3 separate regions of the Homo sapiens genome follow, and all the other regions are linked to region 1. The links are contacts of gene promoters, found by promoter capture Hi-C in human tissues and cell types (Jung and others, 2019). All regions are on one chromosome and are shown on one strand. Each heading gives the region's core, a stretch centred on a gene start or on the middle of the fragment in contact. The rest is flanking DNA. Distances are from core to core; before and after follow the strand shown.

Region 1 (2,700 bases), core at 130-2,629:
ATTATTTCAAACTAAAATGCGTTTAGAAGATTATAAAATATACTTTATTGTAAATACATGCCCCCCAATAAAAACACACAAGGAATAAATGCCAAAAATCCTAGTGACAAAACGAAGTATCACATAGGTGCAGTAGTAATTCCCCTCAAAGAAACCCAGAGTAATCATTACACTTAAGTATTCTTGCTGTCAACATGTTAATTGTTTAAATTATGTGTTAGTTTTAAAGATCACATCCTATAAACTGAAGATTTCTCATGACACAGTAGTGATAAAATGCTACCTTACAGTTCAGATGGTGGTAGAATCATCCAAAAAAAAAGAAGAAGAAAGAAGAAAGAAGAAAAGAAGAAGAAGAAGAGGAAGAAGAAGAAGAAAGAAGAAGAAGAAGAAGAAGAAGAAGAAGAAGAAGAAGAAGAAGAAGAAGAAGAAGAAGAAGAAGAACCATTTTCTCTTATCAGTTTATGTTATGAGATAAGAAGATCTCTCTCCCTCCCTCTCCCCCTCTCTCCCCCTCTCACATCTGCAAGAGTCCGGACTGAGGAGTAGAAGGAACGCGCCATAAGGATTTCGCAAAGTCTGGTCTCTACCTACTTGGAATTTCTTGGAAAAGATTCAAGCATATCATTCCCCTTTCACTAAAGCAAGACGAGAAATCACGTCTAAACCACTGGAATTGCTTTGCTGTGAGGAAGTCGAAGGTGATCAAAGGCAGGGTGGCATGCAAAATGGCACTTGGATAAAATGGGTCTCATTAGGGTAGAGTCCCATTCACGTAAAATGACTCCAGGCAATTCCTAGGGCCTCGACTTTCAACCTGACACTTGCCTGTGTGCAATGAAGATGGAAACAGGGACAACGCGCACCTCCCACAACCATCTGGAAGCTTCACCCTCTCGGCCTGACCCCCAAAGACCCGCTGAAAAGAATGGATGCTTTTGCGAACTCCGGTCCCCACACTGCGGCTCCCCAAGAGCTCCACGGGCAGGGCAGCGGGGCGGAGGCGTCGGGGACTCAGTGCGCGGGGGGCGACGGGGGTTCGGGCTCCGGGCTCACCCGCGTTCTGCAGCGTCTCGATGTTTTGGGGTCTAGTCGCCAGCTCCGCCACCATCTGCACGAACTGGGTCCTGGCCTTCTGGTATTGCTCGAACACTGCGGGAGAGAGAGTCGGTGGAGCCCACCGCACCCGGGTCTCCTCGGCGCCAGCTAGTTAGGGCACCTGCCCGCCTCGGCCCTACCTTGCAGCACCTGCCTCTGACTCATGGCGCCCCCGCCGCCGTCTGCCCTCCTCGAGCTCTGCGGGGAAGCCGCTCGGCCTGCGAGTCCACCAAGGGGGCGATCGTGGCGACGACTCGGCCTCCGACGGGAGCCGCTTCTCTGTGTACCCGCGTCTCCCGGGCAACCTACCGGAACCGGAACGCGGCCGTCTTGCTGCAACGGCCAGTCCCGGGCGTGACGTCACGGCCGCGGTGCCTGGGCGCACTGAGCGGGGCGGCGGCGCGAAGACGCCCGAGCTCGAGGACTCGGACTGCTGGGGCTCTCAGCGCGCCAGGCTCGCGGAGCCGCCGGGACATCGCGCGCCGTCGAGTATCCCTGCACTGCCCGGAGGTCGGAGCTCCTTACAAAGCGACCCCAGATTGCCGTGGTATCCTGACTGCGGCGCGGGTCGGGACCAAGCGCCGGGAGAGCCCCACGCGCCAAGGGAGCCTGGTTCGAGGGCAGCCAGACGAGTAAATTGCAGCCCTGGAGTTGTCTGAGCTTCGACGGTCCCGAGAAATCTCACACGTCACATTGTACAATCCGATCAACACATGAATGTCAATGCAACTTAAGTGTTGCATTGACATTTAACACTGCACTGACAGTAAAACACTGATTTAGGAATCCGTGTTTTCTTTTGTAACCCGCTGTTATATACCTGGCATTCCTGGTTTCAAGATTCCTGGAGGAGCATGACAACCATGTTCACACACTTAATTACACTGTATTGAAAGCATTTAATGAGCACTCAGAGACTCAGTGAGGAAAGCAGATGAGGAAAGGATGTGATGAATGTCCTGTCTTCCCTGGCTTTCTCCTAATGACTACTAATTTTGCTGTTTCCTCACTTTTATGTGATTTGTAAATATTTTGTCTTAGTCTTTTAAATTTAGGCTTCGTTATGTTGATGAATGACATCTCCAACAGAAAAAGAGAGAGAACCTTTACCTGGAAAACCAGACTTCCCTATCTTATATAACTTGAACCCTTTACCCAGTTTCTTTTAACAAAATTGAAGTACTTAGTCTATTACTGGTTTCTAGCTTGTCTTTGAAAACTATATACCAGTTGTTTCAATGACAGTTGTCAACTTTAAATGTTCCTCCATCAAAAACTACAATTTCACCAGATGTCAAGTGGATACATAGCCGCAGCTGCTGCTAAGTAGTGCCAAGACAGGAAACCCCTTGATATTTCTTCAACAGAAGGGAGCATGCAAACTTAACTGGTTCTATATTTGGAATGAGTCCTCTATATTTATCTTTGAGATCTCACCCTTCACTGAGCTCTTGATGAAGTCCTGATACTTTGTGGAGCTCCAAATAGTTGGGGAATGGTCCAGCAATCAGAGAGAAGAATAAGTGTGTTTAGTCGGGTCCCTAATACCCCCGAAGGGCAGGTACATGTCTTCTGCTTCTGCAGCTCAAAAGCCAGTGATGG
Region 2 (3,057 bases), core at 5-2,504, 850 kb before region 1:
ACCGTCCCCTCCCAGGAATCCGAGGAGCTGCAAGTCTGGCGGGGACGCGCGCCCTTGAGAGCCGCGGTCAACGTGGCAGAAAAATAAAAAAAAAAAAAAAAACGAGAAACGCGAGCTCGCATTCAAGTTTTTCCGTGCCCACCGACAATCCGTCGGTCCGACTGTCTGCTTGGCAGTCAGCTCCCCCAGCCCCTCCGGAGCCTTCGAGTGCCCGACCCCTTCTCCCTGAGCTGGGAAGCGGAAGCACTTACGGGTGCCCCGATGGCAGATGATGACCTTCTGGGCCTGGCTGCCCGGGCTGTCCCCGCCCAGGCGCCCGCCGCCGCCCGGCCCCCCGCAGCCGCCCGCGCCACCGCCGCGCAAGGGCAGGTCGGCCTGCACGAGCTCGCTGAGGAAGTTGATGTAGCCGATGGCCAGGCGCAGCGTGTCCACCTTGGAGAGGCGCTTCTCGTAGGGCAGCGTGGGGATGTGCGAGCGCAGCCCCTCGAAGGCGTCGTTGATGGACTGCATGCGCCGCCGCTCGCGCACGTTGGCCGCCTGCCGCAGCTGCTGCAGCTCCGCCTCGGAGCGCACCCGCCGCCGGCGCCGCGCCGCCGCAGCCGCCGCTCCGCTCAGGCCGCGCAGCCGCGCCCCGGGAGACAGTACTGCCGCCCCGGCGCACGGGTAGGCCAGGCACGAGGGCGGCGAGCCGGGCGAGTAGGGGAAGCCGCCTGGGGGCGCCCCCGTCTCGCAGCAGTAGCCGCCGCCGCCGCCGTCGTCTGGCTCACCGAGGCCCCCCGAGGACGGCGGGGCGAGCGCTAGCGGGGCGGCCGGGGGCGCGGGCTGCAGCAGCAGGCACGCCCCGTCGCGGTAGCAGTACTCGTGGAGCTGGTGGCTAAGGAACTCCACCTCGGCCTGCTCGTCCGCCAGCAGCTCATCGCCGTCCTCCAGGGGGTCCCGTGAAGACTGGTCGGTGAAGAAGTCGTCCTCGTCGAAGTACGAAGAAGGAAAGGCGTCTAGGCCCCCGGGGAAGTGCTCCAGCAACACCGCGTCCATGCTCGCCGCCGCAGTGGGCAGCGGGACTGCCGGGCTGCGCGTGTTAGTTCTTGGTGAGTTTCTAAGGCCCGTCCGAGCCCCTCCCTCCCGGGGCCCTGGCTGGGGGCAGCTAGGCGGCCGCCGGGCTGCCCGCCCCCGGGCCTCCCTGGAGTGCCCGCGGCCGCTGCGCTCTGGCCCGCGCTCGCGCTGCGCTGGGGAGGGCTGTGGCGGACTTCCTGGAGCTGAGGGCCGGCACGCGAGGATTCTTATAACAACATCCATAGGCGCGTGCCAGGGACCCATCGCGCCAGCCAATCAGAGCGCGGTGTGCCGGCGGCGAGGGGGCCCGGAGGCGCGGCGGTGGGCGGGGGTGGGGGGCGTTTTGCTCCCTTTGGGAGCTCCTGGGGCGAGGAAAAGGCGGGGTCGCGCGGCCCGGGGCTCCTCGCACCGCTCTCTTCCCTCTCCTCTGCCTCTGCATACTGGATTCTGTACCTGCCCCGCGTGCGGCTCCAGGGGCACCTGCGTCCCGCGGTGCCCGCTGCGTACCCGCGCGCGCTGAGCAGCGCCGGCTCCTTCCGCCCTGGGACTGGGGCAGCCGCGCGCCGCGTCTACACGCGGCCAGAGAAGTTCCTAGGGGTGCGCGCCGGTGGCCCAGACGGCGAGAGCGGAGCCCGCGCGGCGATCGTCCTCCTCCGCGGCAGCCTGGGCAATCTAAGGGTGCTGCCCTCAGGGACCAGGTGGGTGCATTCCGCCACCCCCTTATCCGAGGTGCGCGGGGCTCCGGCCTGGGTTCTGCTGGGGGCTTCTGTCCCATCTCTGGACTTTTCAAGGGCTTTTGCACAGTTTGCAGAGTATATGCGGGTGTCATTGGAAGGTGATCCGGGCCCACTCCCACTGCGTTCCAGACGCAACACGGGGGCTGGGAGCGCACCTATGGGACTCCGCTCTGGAGCCTGGCTGTGGTGCCTGGTGCGGGTCCCCAGCGACATCGGCTCAGTGGCTGCCTCCCCTGCCCTCCCCGGCCCGGAGAAAGGAATGGGGAGACGGGAGGGGCAGCCCCCAGAGCAGCTCAGCGGGGCGCGTTTCTTCTGAGAGCAAATCTAGACCCTAGGGATTCTGAGCAATAAACTGGATACAAAAGGAGTCCATTGAATCGTCTGCTCCGGCGCAGTCCGGAGGGAAGGCATTGAAGTTAAAGGGCAGAATGTGAATCGTTTTCAAAGCCCGAGTCTCTCACCTTTCCGACTGGCCACAGGGACCATCCCTGAATGACTTGTTTTTTTCTTTCTCGACCTTTCTTTTCTGAAAAAAAAAAAAAACACAAAACGTATGCAGCTCTGCCCCAAGACAGACTTTATCACAGACTGCGATGCAACGTGAATTCCTCTTTTTAAGAGCAACAAAGAAACACTTTCAAGGTCTGGGCAATTCCGGTTAAAAGCCAGGCTGCAGCTTCCACCCCGGGAGAGTTCAGAAGCGCAGCCATCGTGCGTATTCTCTCTACAGAGGACTGAAAGGAGTCGTCCTCCTGGGCCGCTTCCTTTTTCAGGCACTTGTCTCACTAGAGGCTTCTGTTGGGTATTCAGACGCCTCTCAAATTCCAAGTCATGCCTCTTCAGATTAGTGATTTAAATACGCTTCTTGGTTTTAGACATTGCACTGTAATTAACTGAATTGAGAACAAAGAGTTAAACCAAAAGATATATAAGGTTAGAAGGCCAGAGATTGCCTTACCTTGAACTGCCAACAACCCCAAACAATTTTAACCCAAGGACTGACTGGTTTTCAGTAGTTTTTTCCTGTGTTAGTTTCTCAGCCTTCACAGTGAAGGAGTCGTTCACTATTTGCATATCCTTAAAGGCAAATATGGACAGTTTCCCGGTGATAGAGCCTGAGCTGTGATTCTCTGCAATTAGATTTCTCTTTCTGACCTCAAAGGAAGGGAAGGGGTGTGTGTGTGTGTGTGTGTGTGTGTGTGTGTGTGTGTGTATCAAGGCCAGAGATCTAGCCAGCTAGTGATGTGCACCCTCCCCTTCCTCACGT
Region 3 (2,722 bases), core at 157-2,656, 870 kb after region 1:
CTTATAAATGGACCTTTTGCCCATACATAATTTTGTAACGTCATGCACTGGTCATGTGGAAAATATTGGTTCCCTGAATCATGCAGATCTTCCAAATATTGGCGCTTTTCATTACACAATATTAAAAGAATCACATTTGTTATTATCGCCATTGATCTCAGCAGAAAAGTTTTAAGTATTGGGAAGGTTTTAAGCTCACAGTGGCAGATTCAAGTTTTTGAAAATTCTAGCTTTTGCTTGAAAGCTCAAATTTTATTACTGGAAACCAACACTGTCAGCTGTATTCCTTAAAGTGATAGGTTCACTTCATTTAATGTTGAGACAATGTGCCAAACACTGAAGCCTAAATAATCATACATCTGTCAGTTGTTCTTGCAAGTAAAAATGGTGTTCCAGCTGAGTGTCGTGGTGCACACCTGTAATCCGAGCAATTTGGGAGGCTGAGGTGGGCAAATCACTTGAGCTCAGGAGTTCGAGGCCAGCCTGGGCAACTTGGTGAAACGCTGTCTCTACAAAAAAAGTAAAAATTATCTGGGTGTGGTGGCATGTGCCTATAGTCTCAGCTATTTGGGAGGATGAGATGGGAGGATTGCTTGAGCCTGGGAGGTCAAGGCTGCAGTGAGCTCTGATAGTGTCACTGCACTCCAGCCTGGGGGCCAGAGTGAGACCCTCTCTTAAGAAAAAAAAAAAAAAAAGAGGGAAGGGTCAGAGGGTGGGATGCTTTGAAAATGAGCTTTTGTAGGTAGAAAAAAGCTTCTCAGGCTGGGCACAGTGGCTCAAGCCTGTAATCCCAGCACTTCGGGAGGCTGAGGCAGGCAGATCATGATGTTAGGAGTTCAAGACCAGCCTGGCCAACATAGTGAAACCTTGTCTCTACTAAAAATACAAAAAATGAGCTGGGCGTGGTGGTGGGCACCTGTAATCCCAGCTACTCAGGAGGCTGGGGTAGGAGAATTGTTTGAACCCAGGAGGCAGAGGTTGCGGTGAGCCGAGATGGCACCACTACACTCCAGCCCGGGCAACAGTGTGAGACTCTGTCTTAAAAAAACAAAAAAGAAAGAAAAAAAGAAAAAAGCTTCCCAGGGCCAGGTGAGGTGGCTCATGCCTGTGATCCCAGCACTCTGGGAGGCTGACGCGGGTGGATCACTGGAGGTCAGGAGTTTGAGACCAGCCCGGCCAACATGGTGAAACCCAGTCTCTATTAAAAATACAAAAATTAGCCAGGCTTGTTGTGGGCACCTGTAATCCCAGCTACTCGGGAGGCTGAGGCAGGACAATTGCTTGAATTTAGGGTTCAGATGTTGCAGTGAGCTGAGATCGTGCTAACTGTACTCCAGCCTGGGTGACAGAGTGAGACGCCATCTCAAAATATATGTGTATATATATGTATATATAAAGAAAGAAGGCTGGGCACAGTGGCTCATGCCTGTAATTCCAGCACTTTGGGAGGCCTAGTCGAGCAGACCTAGACCAGGAGTTCGAGACCAGCCAGACCAACATGGTGAAACCCCATCTCTACTAAAAATACAAAAAAAAAAAAAAATTAGCCAGGTGTGGTGGCACGCACTTGAAATCCCAGCTACTCAGGAGGTGGAGGCAGGAAAATATCTTGAATCCAGGAGATGGAGGTTACAGTGAGCCGAGATTGCGCCACTGTACTCCAGCCTGGGCAACAGAGCAAGACTCCATCTTAAAAAAAATAAAAGGGAAAGAAAGAAAAGAAAGAAAAAAGCTTCACAAGATGATATGTGAGAGGGATTGAGAATTCAGCAGGTACAGGACATTGGAACAAGAGATGAGAAGAAAGTTGTTTTCTGTAGAATCCCCAGATACATAAAATTGGAGGGGATCCTAGGTGTCCTGTCATATATGAGATGGTATTTGGATCATCTGAATTCAAATATCATGGTATAGAATTGTATTAGGCCATTCTTGCATTGCTGTAAAGAAATACCTGCCGGGCACAGTGGCTTACGCCTGTAATCCCAGCACTTTGGGAGGCTGAGGCGGGTGGATCACTTGAAGTCCACATGAGCCTGGCCAACATGGTGAAACCTCGTCTGTACTAAAAATACAAAAATTAGCCAGGTGTGGTGGTGGGTGCTTGTAATCCCACCTACTAGGGAGGCTGAGGCAGGAGAATTGCTTGAACCCAGGCGGCAGAGGTTGCAGTGAGCCGAGATCGAGCCACTGCACTCCAGCCTGCGTGACAGAGTGAGATACTGTCTAAAAAAAAAAAAAAAGAAAGAAAGAAATAAGAAATACCTGAGACTGGGTAATACATATAAAAAAGAGGTTTCATTGGTTCATGACGCTACAGGTTGTACAGGAAGCATAGTGGCACCTGTGTCTGGGGAGGCCTTGGGAAGTTTCGAATCATGGTGGAAGGTGAAGGGGGAGCACGTGTCTCACATGGTGAAAGCAGGAGTGAGACGGAGAGTTGAGGAGAGGTGTCACACACTTTTAAATGACCAGAACTTGTGTGAACTCACTTACTATTGTGAGGGGAGCACCAAGGAGATGGTGCTAACCATTCATGAGAAATCCACCCCCATGGTCCAATCACCTCCCACCAGGCCCCACCTCCAATACTGGCGATTACAGTTTGACATGAGGTTTAGGTGGGGACTAATATAGAAACTATATCAGAATGAACCCTGCAGGATGGAGGATTGGCATCCAGGTGGCTGACCTCTGGGTTCCATTTTGGGATCCTGTCTAA

The links. Contacts are between HindIII fragments. The study calls those that stand out against the background at their distance.
Region 2: a contact is called between the fragment with the promoter of PTF1A here and the fragment with the promoter of SPAG6 in region 1, in 1 of the 25 tissues and cell types used here (H1 embryonic stem cells).
Region 3: a contact is called between a fragment that was not itself captured here and the fragment with the promoter of SPAG6 in region 1, in 1 of the 25 tissues and cell types used here (dorsolateral prefrontal cortex).

Annotation. Positions count from the first base shown.
Region 1 is chr10:22,344,175-22,346,874 of GRCh38, reverse strand. SPAG6 (sperm associated antigen 6) reads right to left here and starts at 1,379. Exons shown (of 11, transcript NM_012443.4): 1 at 1,239-1,379; 2 at 1,057-1,152. The coding sequence starts at 1,263. RefSeq lists enhancers at 534-1,350, 1,311-1,530. The HindIII fragment of the contact is 4,842 bases long and covers 1-2,700 here.
Region 2 is chr10:23,190,509-23,193,565 of GRCh38, reverse strand. It overlaps PTF1A (pancreas associated transcription factor 1a), which reads right to left and starts at 1,254. Exons shown (of 2, transcript NM_178161.3): 1 at 252-1,254. The coding sequence starts at 1,035. The HindIII fragment of the contact is 16,553 bases long and covers 1-3,057 here.
Region 3 is chr10:21,469,539-21,472,260 of GRCh38, reverse strand. No RefSeq gene overlaps it. Among named protein-coding and RNA genes, the nearest start is that of MIR1915, 26 kb to the left of the region's middle. RefSeq lists a silencer at 540-734. The HindIII fragment of the contact is 3,112 bases long and covers 1-2,722 here.